Regions from separate parts of the Homo sapiens genome. Here regions 2 and 3 are each linked to region 1. Evidence: promoter capture Hi-C in 16 types of primary human blood cells and fetal thymus (Javierre and others, 2016). All regions are on one chromosome and are shown on one strand. The core of a region is centred on a gene start or on the middle of the fragment in contact, and the rest is flanking DNA. Distances in the headings are between cores, read along the strand shown.

Evidence for each region. The method cuts DNA at HindIII sites, captures the fragments that hold promoters and counts their contacts. A CHiCAGO score of 5 or more calls a contact.
Region 2: a contact is called between a fragment that was not itself captured here and the fragment with the promoter of PLIN3 in region 1, in 1 of 17 cell types (naive B cells). The highest score is 6.1, in naive B cells.
Region 3: a fragment that was not itself captured here is called in contact with the fragment with the promoter of PLIN3 in region 1 in 4 of 17 cell types (M1 macrophages, naive B cells, M0 macrophages and 1 more); the score reaches 6.4 in M1 macrophages.

The regions. Positions count from the first base shown.
Region 1 is chr19:4,865,640-4,870,052 of GRCh38, reverse strand. PLIN3 (perilipin 3) reads left to right here and starts at 2,386. Exons shown (of 8, transcript NM_005817.5): 1 at 2,386-2,444. RefSeq lists a silencer at 2,229-2,408 and enhancers at 2,626-3,126, 3,069-3,418. The HindIII fragment of the contact is 7,389 bases long and covers 1,069-4,413 here.
Region 2 is chr19:5,580,146-5,584,944 of GRCh38, reverse strand. No RefSeq gene overlaps it. Among named protein-coding and RNA genes, the nearest start is that of TINCR, 15 kb to the right of the region's middle. The HindIII fragment of the contact is 3,636 bases long and covers 883-4,518 here.
Region 3 is chr19:5,624,216-5,629,097 of GRCh38, reverse strand. It overlaps SAFB (scaffold attachment factor B), which reads right to left. Exons shown (of 21, transcript NM_001201338.2): 2 at 2,609-2,693. Among named protein-coding and RNA genes, the nearest start is that of SAFB, 3.6 kb to the right of the region's middle. RefSeq lists an enhancer at 4,853-4,882. The HindIII fragment of the contact is 1,839 bases long and covers 2,480-4,318 here.

The DNA.
Region 1 (4,413 bases), core at 1,137-3,636:
ACCCAGCACCTTGAGAGGCCAGGGCTGGTGGATCACATGAGGTCAGGAGTTCGAGACCAGCCTGGCCAACATGGTGAAGCCCCGTCTCTACTAAAAAAAAAAAAAATACAAAAATTGGCCAGGCATGGTGGCACAGGCCTGTAATCCCAGCCACTTGGGAGGTCGAGGAACAAGAATTTCTTGAACCTGGGAGGCGGAGGTTGCAGTGAGCCGAGATCGTGCCACTGCACTCCAGCCTGGGTGACAGAGTGAGACTCTTTGACAAAAAACAAGAACAAAATCCCCGCATCCCCCACATTCATCTCGTCCTTTGCTGTCCTACCACGTGACACATTGTAAAGTTCTCTCACTTATGTTGTTCCTTGTTCGTCTCTCCCACTGGGTAGTGTGTGTCACCAGGGCTGGAATTCTTATCTGTTTAGCTCACCGCTGTCCCCAGCGCAAGGACTCAATAAATATGGTTGAATGAGTGAATGAGAAGGAAAAAGCCTGTTACAAATGTCATGGAATGGGGTCTCAGATTCACTTGAGAATCTCACTAGCTGCCTGAAGTTACTTAAATTTAAACATTCAGGCCAAGCGCGGTAGCTCACACCTGTAATCCCAGCACTTTAGGAGGCCGAGGCAGGTGGATCACTTGAGGCCAGGAGTTCGAGACCAGCCTGGCCAATATGGTTAGTCCTCGTCTCTACTAAAAATACAAAAATTAGCTGGGTGTGGTGGCGCGCGCCTGTAATCCCAGCTACTTGGGAGGCTGAGGCAGGAGAACCGCTTGAACCCGGGAGGTGGAGGTTGTAGTGAGTCGAGATCGCGCCATTGCACTCCAGCCTGGGAGACAGAGCGAGACTCTGCCTCAAAAAAAAAAAAAAAATTTAAACATTCAGCTTCTCACTGTGCATTAGCCACGTGGTGCTTTTGGCTACAATGTTGGATGGCACACAATTCTAGAATTGCAGAAAGTTCTATTGGACAGTGCTAGCATAGACCCTGTCCCCACTCACCCCCCCAAAAAAATGCAGTCACAGACACCCAATTTTTCCCATGTTCTTTCTAAAGCTACCAGAAGCTTCATTCTATTCAAATAATTTGGCAGAGGTGGCAAACTGGTGGCCCCTGGGCTGGACAAAGCCCCAGTTGGGTTTCATTTGGTCCAATTGTTCCCTAACAGGCAGGACATGTCTACAGCTTGAACTTCCTGTGGATCTGTGACTCTCCAGGTGGGTCTCCCATAGGGCACTGCTCTCCCCTGCCCCTCTAAGCAGGGCATCACTGCCACCTCCTCAGCAGAAATATTCACCTCCTCCCTGGACCATCTGAGATTGAGACCTTGGTTTATAGACCAAGAGGATAAATAATTTGGGAGGTGGAGAGGGGCGGGGTAAAATCCAAGTGGGGGCAGCTTCAGGAAAAGGTTGATCCAGCAGTCACAGAGCCTGGAGCCTGACCCCTCCATTGCCCCTGGCTGACCCTCTCCAGGCCTCAGTTTCCTTCTCTGCAAAATAGGGATGATTAAAAAGACAATACAGTGCTGGGAGGATGAAGTGGTCTGATGTTGGGCAGATCAGGCCGGAGGCTGGACAAGTTCCCGTGGTGGTTCAAGTCACTCATATAGCTGGGTTGGGCCGGGTGCGGTGGCTCATACCTGTGATCCCAGCAATTTGGGAGGCCCAAGCGGGCAGATCACTTGAGGTCAGGAGTTCAAGACCAACATGGTGAAACCCCGTCTCTGCTAAAAATACAAAAAATTAGCCGGGCGTGGTGGCACGTGTCTGTAATCCCAGCTACTCAGGAGGCTGAGGCAGGAGAATCGCTTGAATCCAGGAGGTGGAGGCTGCAGTGAGCCAAGGTCGCGTCACTGCACTCCAGCCTTAGCGACAGAGCGAGACTGTGTCTCAAAAAAAAAAAAAAAGTGTGTGTGTGTGTGTGTGTGTGTGTGTGTACATATAGCTGAGTCGGAGCCCATGGTGGAGGGCGTGGCCCCTGACGCGCTGGCGAGGGTCACCCTGCAACTCTCCCAGGGTTCTCGCAGCCTCAGTTTGGCCATAGGGGAAATGGGCGACCTGGGGAATCCCAGCACCTGTGCGGCGCCCCCGATCGCACTCACCTCCCAGGGCCAACTTCACAGGGTCCCCAGCTGCGGAGCGGGGGTCCCGTGGCTGGGACAGGCGTGGTCCAAGAGTGCTCCCTCCCCTTCAGGGGCAGGGCGTGGAGTCCTTCCCGGACTTCATGACTTGGCGAGGGGCGGGGCCTAGTGGAGGCGGGGCAGGGAGGAGAGGGGCGGGCCTGGCGCGGGCAATCCCTCAACCTGATTGGTCCCCTCGCCCGTCACTCCAGTGCGCCCCCAACCTACCACGCAGTAAAAGCCACCCCCGCCTCGGCCCGGACGGTTTCCAAGCTGGTTTTGAAGTCGCGGCAGCTGTTCCTGGGACGTCCGGTTGACCGCGGTGAGTGGCGGGGGCGTCTCAGTTGAGCTGGGGGGCGGTGTCCATGGAGTCCTGGGGCACCCCAGGGGCCGGAGGGGTCGGGGAGGGCCTTTCTCGGGGTGGGATTTGCTGGACTCTGCGGCCTGGGGAGGGGTCTTCAGCCCAGGCTGGTCACCCCTCCCCCCAGAAAAATCCAACTTCTGCAACGAAGCTCAGACTTTGAAACCCTCTTCTCACTTCCTGGGACTTTTGAGGGGCGAAAGAGCCCCGTAGAAGGGGTGATATTGAAGGGGGTGGGCTAAATACCGCCCCCCGCCCACCAGGTTTTCTCTAAATTTTGAACAGTTTGCTTTTGGAAACGCCATTTGCAGGCAAGTTTCCTCCTGCGGGCAGAATCTCCGCCCTCCCTTCTGGGGTTTTCAGAGACACCCCCCGCCACCGCAAAGCCCCCTCCCCTACAGATGGTTTTGCCACGGGTGGGGGTGGGGGTTGCCCCAGCTCCTGGCGCCCCCAACTGATTCTGGGGAGGTCTTGGGCAAAGCCTGCCCACTTCCCTCGGGTGGGCGTGGCGACGAGGTGGCTTAAAAGTAGGAAGGCCTATCCGTTAACTGCTTTGGGGTTCTTGTCCCGGCTAGGCCTGGCAGTGGGACCTGGGGCCCTTGGAATTTTGGAAGTCCAGTCTTAGCATGCTCTGAAGTTGCTGGATGGCTGGGTCTGGCCTGGAGCTCCCCTTCTGGAGCCAGCGGCAAGGCAGGTCACTGACCCCCAGGGGTTTCATAGGGTGTTGACATCTGCCATGGCCACCCTTGCTTAAACCAGTTCCAGGAAGTCATGGTGGACAGAGGGGACGGGAGGAAGCTGCCTGAGTCCTAAGTGGGACTTGAGAATCGGTCGAGGCCAGGAGTTTGATGCCTGCCTACCTGGCCCCCTGCCCAGGTGAGCTCAGGCTCCAAAGGAGGTGAGGAGAAGCACAGATTTAGGCAATGATCACTGGGAGGTAGGTATGTCTTCTCACCTGACTTCCCAGTTGGGGGACTTTTGTACCTAGCAGGAAGCTGGTTCCTGGCTGGCTTTACCCCTTTGTCCGTGGAAGCCAGAGTGCGGTGAGATAGTTTATGGAGCACTTACTATGTGCCGGGCACGGATCTGAGCTTCCCCGGAGCAGCGTCTCCTCCAGTCCACAGGGACTCCAGGCTCTTGTGAAACACTTATACACATTTCACAGATGTGGCAAGCAAGACTCCTAGGGGATGCTGCCTTCCCAAACTCCTATTCCTAGTGAGTTGCCAAGCTGGGATTAGAACCCATTCTGGGCTGGGCAGGATGACTCACGCCTATAATCCCAGCACTTTGGGAGGCTGAGGTGGGCGGATCATTTGAGGTCAGGAGTTGGAGAACAGCCTGGCCAACATGGTGAAACCCCACCTCTACTAAAAATATAAAAATTAGCCGGACGTGGTGGCGGGCACCTGTATTCCCAGATACTCTGGAGGCTGAGGCAGGAGAATCGCTTGAACCTGGGAGATGGAGGTTACACTGAACTGAGATCACGCCACTGCATTCCAGCCTGGGCGACAGAGCAAGACTCTGTCTCAAAAAAAAAAAAAGGCCGGGCATGGTGGCTCACGCCTGTAATCCCAGCATTTTCGGAGGCCGAGGCGGGCGGATCATGAGGTCAGGAGATCGAGACGATCCTGGCTAACATGGTGAAATCCCATCTCTACTAAAAATACAAACAATTAGCCAGGCGTGGTGGCGGGCGCCTGTGGTCCCAGCTACTCGGGAGGCTGAGGCAGGAGAATGGCGTGAACCGGGGAGGCAGAGCTTGCAGTGAGCTGAGATCGCGCCACTGCACTCCAGCGTGGGCGACAGGGCGAGACTCCGTCTCAAAAAAAAAAACAAAAAAAAAAAAATGGAAAGAACCCAATCTGGACTCCAGATCTAGTGCTTGCAAAACATCATCATTTTGCTGGGTTCTGCTTAGGGGACA
Region 2 (4,799 bases), core at 1,451-3,950, 710 kb before region 1:
TCAAGTGATCCGCCCACCTCGGCCTCCCAAAGTGCTGGGATTACAGGCGTGAGCCACCGCGCCTGGCCTGTTTCTTTAATAATTGAGCATAGGTACGTTATATTAACTCAACTTTTATTTCAAGAGAGAAAAGGTGGGTGGAACAAAATACGTGTTATGAAAAGGAGATGCTGATGGACGTGTGGGTGGTTCCCCCCTTTGGGCAGTTGTGTGTGAATCACGCTGCCGTGAGCATTTATGGATATGTATGTGTTTGAACACCTGTTTTCCATTCTCCTGTGTATATACCTGGGACTGGGATTGCTGGGTCCTATGCTGACTTTGTAACTCCCTGTGTTTTATTTCTGGAAGTATAGCCAGACTTTTCCACAGTGGTGGTACCATTATACATTCCTACTAGCACTATATGAAGATTCCAATTCCCCTTTTTTACGAGACAGGGTCTCGCTGTGTCTCCCAGGCTGGAATGCAGTGGCGCGATCATAGCTCACTGCAGCCTCGAACTCCAGAGCTCAAGCCATCCTCCCACCTTGGCCTCCCAAGTTGCTAGGTCTACAGGCATGAGCCACCATGCCTGGCCTTGGTATACCATTTGGTGGTGAATTTTGTTATGTATCATTTCCCATCGTTTTAAAGACATTTTTAAAGGGGAGGGGGAGCTGTGGGGGCATCACGGGAATGAGAGCCACTGGGGCAGAAACAGGGAGCTTCTTGAGAGCAAGTTTAGGAGCCAACTGCCTGGCACCCAGCCTTCTCACTACCTGCCTGCCCACGGGCAGGTCATTACTGTCTGCTTTAGCTGCTTTAACTGGAAGGAGGGAGTAATCATTGTAGTTGCCATATGGGATCTTTACAAAGATTAGTTAATCCACATAAAAAGCTTGGCATACAGTAAATGCTTAATACATGTTGGCAGGCCCTGGGGAGCCCTACAGGAATAGAGCCTCGGGTGCTCATGTTTCACAGGGGCCCTGGCGAAATGCAATGCCAGAGGTCTGGAGGGGGTCCCGGTGAGGAAATGACCAGCTCCAGCCATACAGAAAGAAAACAGCAGAATCAGAATTAAGACCTTATGGCCTGGCGCGGTGGCTCATGCCTCGAATCCCAGCACTTCTGGAGGCTGAGGCGGGTAGGTCACCTGTGGTCAGGAGTTCGAGACCAGCCTGGCCAACATGGGGAAACCCCCATTTCTACTAAAAATACAAATATTAGCCAGGCATGGTGGTGGGTGCCTGTAATCCCAGCTACTCGAGAGGCTGAGGCAGGAGACTTCTTGAACCCTGGGGGGCGGAGGTTGCAGTGAGCCGAGATCGCGCCACTTCACTCTAGTCCCGGGTGAAAGAGCGAAACTCCATCTCAAAAAAAAAAAAAAAAGAAAGAAAAAGTAGAATTAAGACCTTACGAAATGTCTCCACAGCTACAAAATGTGTCAACTTCACCAATTGCTAAATTTTGTATTCATAAAGATTTCATTACATTTCAAAACAGCTCCTAGGTTAGATTTTCTTATTCCCAAGGAACTCCCAAGCCTCCACGATGATTGCCAGTCTCAAATTGCATGCATGACTCCTAGTCACATAATTTCAAAGGCAAAGTTAGAACAGGGCCTTTTGATTCCAAAAAAACCCAACAACCATAAAGTCGACGTTTAACGGGGATGCCGTGCCTTTTAACAGGTTTGCCGGATTGAGGGGCAGGGCTTCCTTGAGTCCCAGTGACCCACGGGAGAGGTGAGGCTGTTCCTACCTGGTCATACGATGGTGACAAATCAGGGTTCGGATTCTGCTCTCACTGCTGGGTGGGTTCAGACCTCAGCCCTTCAGCCATTTCTTTGGTCAGCTGGGTGGACTAGGAGAGCTTTTCTCTTTGTTTTTTGAGATGAAGCCGTGCCGTGTTGCCCAGGCTGGAGTGCAGTGGCACAATCTTGGCTCACTGCAACCTCCGCTTCCCGGGTTCAAGCGATTCTCCTGCTTCAGCCTCCCAAGTAGCTGGGATTACAGGTACCTGCCACCATGCCTGGCTAGTTTTTGTATTTTTAGTAGAGATGGGGTTTCCCCATGTTGGCCAAGCTGGTCTCAAACTCGTGGCCTCGGGTGATTCTCCTGCCTTGGCTTCCCAAAGTGCTGGGATGACAGGCATGAGCCACCACACCCAGCCACGAATTCCTTCACCTTAATCACATCTGCAAGGTCCCTTTGTCTTGGAGACCAATGTGTTCATAGGTCCCAGGGATTAGGACGTGGGCATCCTTGTCCGTCACCCTGGTGTACAACAGAATCCACTTTGGGAAGCACCTGATGTGCTTACCAGTCAAGCAAGTTAGACATCTCTAGTCCCCCTGGCCAGCCACCAATTTATATGAGGACACCTACGGACGCCACACAACATCACCAAACCCAGACATAGCCCAGTGCAGCTCCCTGGGAAACTGGAGTCAATTCCTGGGAAAGTCAAGCGCAGAAGAAGGTTCTGAGCCCGAGGGAGGCTGAGACCCGCCCAGAGGTAGCGAGCCATGGAGCTGAGGCTGCAGCCCGAGGTCCCTTCTCCTCAGCCTCCCCGGTTGTCAGGGCACCCCGTGCCGCGGTCACACGGTGGTGAAGGGATAGGTGTTTGGGGCACCAGTGAGCAAGCTGCGTACGTGAGTGTGTACATAATTTTGCACATGCGCTTGGCCTTTAGAGTTGACCCCAAGGATAACTCTACATGTCCTACAGTGCTTCCAGAGACAGCAATACTGGGCCAGAAACTGCCCCTAAATTACTCCCGGGAGCACCAAGAGCCGCTTCTCCGTACTCCTCAAATCCTCGTGAGATGCAGCTGCCCTGTGTTTGCCTCCACCTGCAAATATTGACACAGCAGCTGCCGGGTTCAGTGGAGCATAAGGTACTGAGGACCCGAGACATTGCCCTCCTGGGAGAGCTTCCTGGGTGGTCTGTGAACCAGGGCCCGGTGGCTCATGCCTGTAATCCCAGCACTTTGGGAGGCTGAGGTGGGAGGATCACTGGAGCCCAGGAGTTTGAGAGCAGTGTGGGTAATGTAGCAAGACCCCATCTGTACAAAAAAATAAAATTGGCTGGGCTGCTGGTGTACACCTGTAGTCCCAGCTACCCACGAGGCTGAGGAGGGAGGATCACTTGGGCTCAGGAGGCAGAGGCTGCAGTGAGCTGTGATCACACCACTGCACTCCAGCCTGGGCGACAGGGCTGTCTCAAAAAAGAACAGCGTGGCACTGGCTGTGACTGAGGAGACCAGCCACACATGCCCAGCCCCTTCAAATTCTGCCCCCTGCAAGAGGTCTCCTCTGACCACTGGATCAGCAGCGCCTCATCACCCTCTGCCTTGTCACACCTGCCTGTCCTCGTGGCTCTGACCACTCGCTAAAGCATTGTTTATTGTCGGCACTCTCCACCACATAAGCATCGTTGGGGCAGGCATCTGCATCTCCCCAGTGCACAGCCTTTTAAAATACAGGTTTTGGCCGGGCGCGGTGGCTCATGCCTGTAATCCCAGCACTTTGGGAGGGTGAGGCGGGTGGATCACCTGAGCTCAGGAGTTTGAGACCAGCCTGGCCAACATGGTGAAACCCCGTCTGTACTAAAAACACAAAAATTAGCCGGGTGTGGTGGTAGGCACCTGTAGTCCCAGCTACTCAGGAGACTGAGACAGGAGAATCGCCTGAACACAGAGATGGAGGGTGCAGTGAGCTGAGGTCGCACCACTGCACTCCAGCCTGTGTGACAGAGCGAGACTCCATAAAAAAAAAAAAAAAAAGCAGGTTTTGGCCGGGCACGGTAGCTCACGCCAGTAGTCCCCGCACTTTGGGAGGGTGAGGTGGGCAGATCACCTGAGGTCAGGAGTTCGAGACCAGCCTGGCCAACATGGTGAAACCCCATCTCTACTAAAAATATGAAAATTAGCTGGGCATGGTGGCGCATGCCTGTAATCCCAGCTACTAAGGAGGCTGAGGCAGGAGAATCGCTTGAACCTGGGAGGCGGAGGTTGCAGTGAGTCAAGATCGCACCACTGCACTCCAGCCTGGGAGACAGAATGAGACTCCATCTCAAAAAAATAAAAAAGTGCTTTATGCAATATCTGGCATACAGTAGGTGCATAGCAAGTGGTTGTGGTTCTTTGAATTTTTTTAGCAAGAGACAGGTCTAAACCAGGGCTTCCCACTCCTTGCCCAACAGAAATCCCTCCCCTCTGCCCTTTAAGAAATTAAGTGTGGCCCATAGACTTAGGGAAGGGGAATCGCTGGGCTCGATTTCTACTGCAGCTGTAATCTATAATGTTGCATTACAGTTTTTAAAACAAGAGGCCCCTCTTTGGCCTCTCAAATGCTGCACGCTGTGGAGTTAAGTGCTGGAAGCCACTGATGGTGTCTCTCGGCTTCTTCCAGTCTTGGAATCATAGCCACCTCGTGCCAACGAGCTGTGAAACTACTGGGGTGCCCCGTGTACCCAGCCACAGAAAACGCATATCAGGCCTCGCGGGGAGCTCGTAAAAGGCACTGAAGCTTCCCCTGCGTGTATGCTGCCGGCCACAGCAGACCAAATATTTACAGACTCAGCTGAAATGAAACCCAGCAGGGTGGATCTCACAGGTGGTCCGGGAAAGGTCCCCATTGCTGGGGAAACAGTGCACAGAGCAGGAAGGAAACCCACTTGGCCAAGGCCCCCTGCCAAGCAAGTCAAGATGAAATCCAGGCTCAAGAGCTGGGCTCTGAGTCCTTTGTTTTCTTGCTTATTTAGCTTAGCAAATGCTTCTTGGGTACTTACTGCGAGCAGGGCTCCATGGCA
Region 3 (4,882 bases), core at 2,150-4,649, 760 kb before region 1:
CTGCCGGGCGCAGTGGCTCACAACTGAAATCTAAACGTTTTGTGGGGCTGAGGTGAAAGCACTGCTTGAGGCCAGGAGTTCAAGGCTGCAGCGAACTATGACTGCGCGACTACCCTCCATCTGAGTGACAGAGTGAGAACCCACCTCAAAAACAAAACAAAAACAGCAACAAAAGCCTGTAGTACAAGTATTTGCTTTTATCAGAAGAAAAAGGAAAACAAAAAAGGAGATCCACAGGCTCTGTTTTTTGCTTTTATTATTTCTTTCTCCATTGATTTTCCAGGACTCTTTGCCTTGGCAGAAGTATACTTGAGTAAAGGCAAAAACACGCAATGTATCATGAGCCACAGAAGTGACTTCATTCTGCTGTTCTCCCAGCACTTACCCCAAACACTGTGGCTGACACTGGGGCCTGACTCTCAGATATTTAAACCCAGTACTTCACCACCAAGTATTAGTTATTATCTCATTTAGTTTTGGGCCCTGAGAACCAGGCCTTCAATTACAGGTTGGGCAACCCTATCTGAAACTGAAACCTTCTGAGCACTGACATATTGCCACAAGTAGAAAATTCCACACCTGATGTGTGGAATTAGTGAAAGTTTTGTTTCATGCACAAAATTATAAAAAATATGGTATTAAATTATCTTCAGGTGTATAAGAAACAAATTTCTTGTTTAGATTTGGGCCCCAATCCCAAGATTATCTCATTATGCGTACGAAAATACCGCACAAAATCCAAAAAATGAAACCCTTCTGGTCCCAAGCATTTCAGATAGGGAAAACTCTACATGAACCAAGAGAACATTCGGTCTACAAGCCCAGCTTCAGCTGATTCTTTTTTTTAGGGGGATGGAGTCTTGCGGTCGCCCAGGCTGGAGTGCAGTGGTGCGATCTGGGCTCAGTGCAACCTCCACCTCCTGGGTTCAGGCAATTCTCCTGCCTCAGCCTCCTGAGTAGCTGGGATTACAGGAGCCCGCCACCACACCTGGCTAATTTTTATATTTTTAGTAGAGACGGGGTTTCATCATGTTGGCCAGGCTGGTCTCGAACTCCTGACCTCAGGTGACCAGTCCGCCTCAACCTCCCAAAGTGCTGGCATTACAGGTGTGAGCCACGGCGCCCTGCCTCAGCTGATTCTTTCTTAAGCCAATAGTTGAGTGTTACCAAGTTAAACCATTGAAGGGGAAAGAAAGATAAACAAGACACAGCCCTAGTCCTCATCAATCTGCTCTTGACAGAAGGCAAGATGACATAAATATTAAACCAAGGGGTAAGGAACTATGCCACGGGAGGACAGAGGACCCAAGGAGACGAGTTGCTATTGGTGGGATGGATCAGTTGTCTTTTGAGGAACTAGGTCTCTAAGGCAGACAGATGGGGAAGGGTGGGCGGAGCGAAGTCACAGAGAACCAGGAGAGTAAATCACGTGTTTGGGGCCTGACTAAAGCACAGGGTGTGGGGGATGGGCAAGAGAGATTTCGGTAAGATGGTGAGAGTCATGTCATGTGGAATGTGACTTTTACTGTATAAGCTGCTTTTAAAAGAAATGTTAAAGTGACAATTCTGTTTTTGCCAAGTGCTGTTTATAAGGGATGTTATTTTCTCCAAGTCCAAGCAATAGGAGGCTCAGGCAGTCCTACTTTTTGGACTCCATGTTGGAGTTCAGTGGTGCCATGATAGCTCAGTGCAACCCTGAACTCCTGGGTTCAAATGATCCTCCCGCCTTAGCCTCCCAAGTAGCTAGGAAAACAGGCGTGCCTCGACGCCTAGGTACTTTTTTTTTTTGGCAGTGGATAGAGGCAGCCCAGGCTGGTCTCAAACTCCTAGACTGAAACCATTCTCCTGCCTTGGGTTCCCAAAGTGTTGGGATTACAGGTGAGAGACACTGTGCCCCGCCCCCACCCCCCTTTTTTTTAAGAGAGACTGGGTCTTGCTCTGTCACCCAGGCTGGAGTGCAGTGGTGCAATCATTAGGTCATTGCAGGCTTGAGCTCCTGGGCTCAAGTGATCCCCCTCCTAAAACTCCCAAGTAGCTGGGATCACAGGTGCATGCCATCATGCCTGGCTAATTTCTTTTTGGTGGGGATGGGGGTCTCCCTATGTTGCCCAAGCTGATCTCAACCTCCTGGGGTCAAGTAATCCTTCCGGTTCAGCCTCCCAAGCAGCTGGGACCACAGATGCATGCCACCACACCGGGCCTTTAAAAGTTTTTTTGTAGAGCTGGGTTTTGCTATGTTGCCCAGGCTGGTCTTGAACTCCCAGGCTCATGTGATCCTCCTACCACAGCCCCGAGTCGCCTGGAATTACAGGCACACGCCACTGTGACTGACTCCCAAAAGACTCCTTATTTAAGGACCGCTGACAATCTACAGAGGAAAATGAATAAAGGACAAATACTCCTTCCATCCTCCATTGGAATTCCCAGATACCAAGAAAACAAAACACAGTAGAGAGATCTTGAAAGAAAATGCAAAGCTTCGCTGAAGGCTCCCAGTTCAGAGTGGTTCACAAGTCCAACACACAGACAAGTAAACGAGGCACATTAGCAATGTATTCGTTTTGAAGAAAGCACTTAACATGAAACTTGCTTATGAAATCCTCCATACCTTTGCTAGACCTCTTTGATGTTTTCTTGTTTCCCTCGGAGGTAATTTCAATTTCGTCAGGATTACCACCTTCATCTTCAATTGCCTAAAAAGAAGGGAAAAGTAAAGTTGATCCAAAAAGTCAGCTCACACACTGCTTTCAGAGAGCTCTCAGGTGACAAGGAAACTGTATTTTTAAGATCAAAAAGCTGCTGCCGCCCTCACCACCCAGGACCTGTGGCCCATCCACTCATCTGTTATCTCGCTCTACACTGGAGACCGACTGACGCCACCAGTTCTTAGCTGGGTGGTCCCAGGCAGGTTTACTTAGGTGCTCAGTTTTTGCTTCTTCCTCTGGAACATGCGGCTAATAATAATACAGTACTTACCCTGGAAGGCTGTTGTGAGGACTCTACTAGCCATGAAAAGGAAGCACTCAACAAACAGTAGGCTTATCTGGTTCATCTCCTTCCTAAGCCCAGAAGAACTCAAAAAGGGAAAGGCACACTCTCCATTTCCCCTGACTTTACTCACAAAATACTCTTTAACCCTCCAGGGACTCCCTCCACGCCGTGCCTGTACTCAGTACTGTGTGGACAGAATACTAATGCTCGCTGACTGGGATCCTACTATGTGTTACGCACGAGACCCGTCACGACATGCATGACCTCATCCGATCCCCATCATGTACATTCACAACCGACTCCAGTACCTCATTCTCAACCACTAGGTGATTGTGCCTCATCGGATATTGAATTATAAGAATTTCTTGGCACGCCCAGCCTCCCACCCCAGGACTCTGTCACTCACTTCAACTATGCCCATCCTCAGCACAGTGCCTGGCATCAACTAAGCCATCAGTACCGAACACGTCAATCACGATGACGTCCCTAGAAACTTAGCTTCAGGTCAAGTTTTACTGATAACTTTTCCAGTCTTTACTCTCCAGTCCCATGAGCACAAGTTTTGTTTACATCATTTCATGTACTATGTTTTATCTGCAGAGGTTTGGAAGCCTCCAAGTTTCCCAGGTGGGTAAGTCTGAATTGAGATAGGGCCTGGGGGTTCCACATCTCATCTTTACCAGCAGCAACAAAAATCTCTCCTCTCAGAAGCCAGAAAAGGGACTGAAGTTCTTTCCTGGGATCAAGGAAAAGTACAATCACCAAGTCCCTCACCCTTTTCCCGGGGACAGGCAATTCTGAAACACCACCAGGAGAAGAGAAGCAATGCCCTAGGCAGGTGTCCTGTTTCCCCTTTTTGTTCTTTTGCCCTTCCTGGAAAAATAAACCAAGAAAGGGACACCAACAGGATGACAGAAACGGGAAGAGAATGAGATCAGGAACTCCAGACTGGCTTGGGTGAGTGGCAGACAGGGATATGGGCTGGCGGTATTCGTGTTTTGGGACCACATCTTGAAGAAAATGAAAAGGAGAAGGAAGAAGGAACAAATCTGTGCTCTCAGAGATGACAGCGAGTGATGGGAAGTCTCAGTCACCAGCTTGACAGGAAGATCACAGCAGCTTTTCAGGCCTATGGACCGTCCAGGGAGAAAAAAAGGATAAAGCCTCTTAATTTGGCTTAGCTGATGGGAGGCCCTGGTGGCGGGGCACCACACCTGACCAGCCGCCAATCTCCACTCTCTGCATTTTCTCTGGGTAAATATGTAGATCAGTGGGCTTCCTGCCTTATCTGAGTAAAGAGAATCCATAGTGAAAAGAAACACAAGCTTGAGCTTTTAAAAGGCCCATGTGACTCTGGCCGAGACAACTATCCACCCTTGAGCCCAGGGTTTCTCATCAGGAAAAAAAAAAAAAAAAAAATCCCTACTTCTTCTCATCACCAATTAATAATAAAGCCCTGTGATCTCCGTAGTTCCGGAGTCAGGATGGTGGGATGTGTCAACAGCCCCACTGCCTGCAGGGGCTGGGGGGTGGGCGGCCAGGCGGAGCAACTACAGGGGAGAGGTCCCAGAGTAGCCAGGTGGAAAAAAGGCAGAGAAAAAAAGCTACAGGAATAAGGAAACCGCAGGTGGCTAACCTTTACTTGCCTCTCTGCTTTTCCTAGGGATCCCTTTGAATCCCCCAAGGGAGGCGTTAGAGCCCCCGATCTGCAAATGAGGACTCGTGGTGGCACAGAGAGGAAAAGCGAATCGTGATGGCAACCACACACCGAGTGTTTACATGCGCCAGGCAGCACGCCAAGCCTGCTCCACGCAAACTTATTTAATCCCCAAATCAAAGTCCTATTGCTTTTTTGCTTCTTACAGGAGAAAAAAAAAAAAAAAGAATAGAA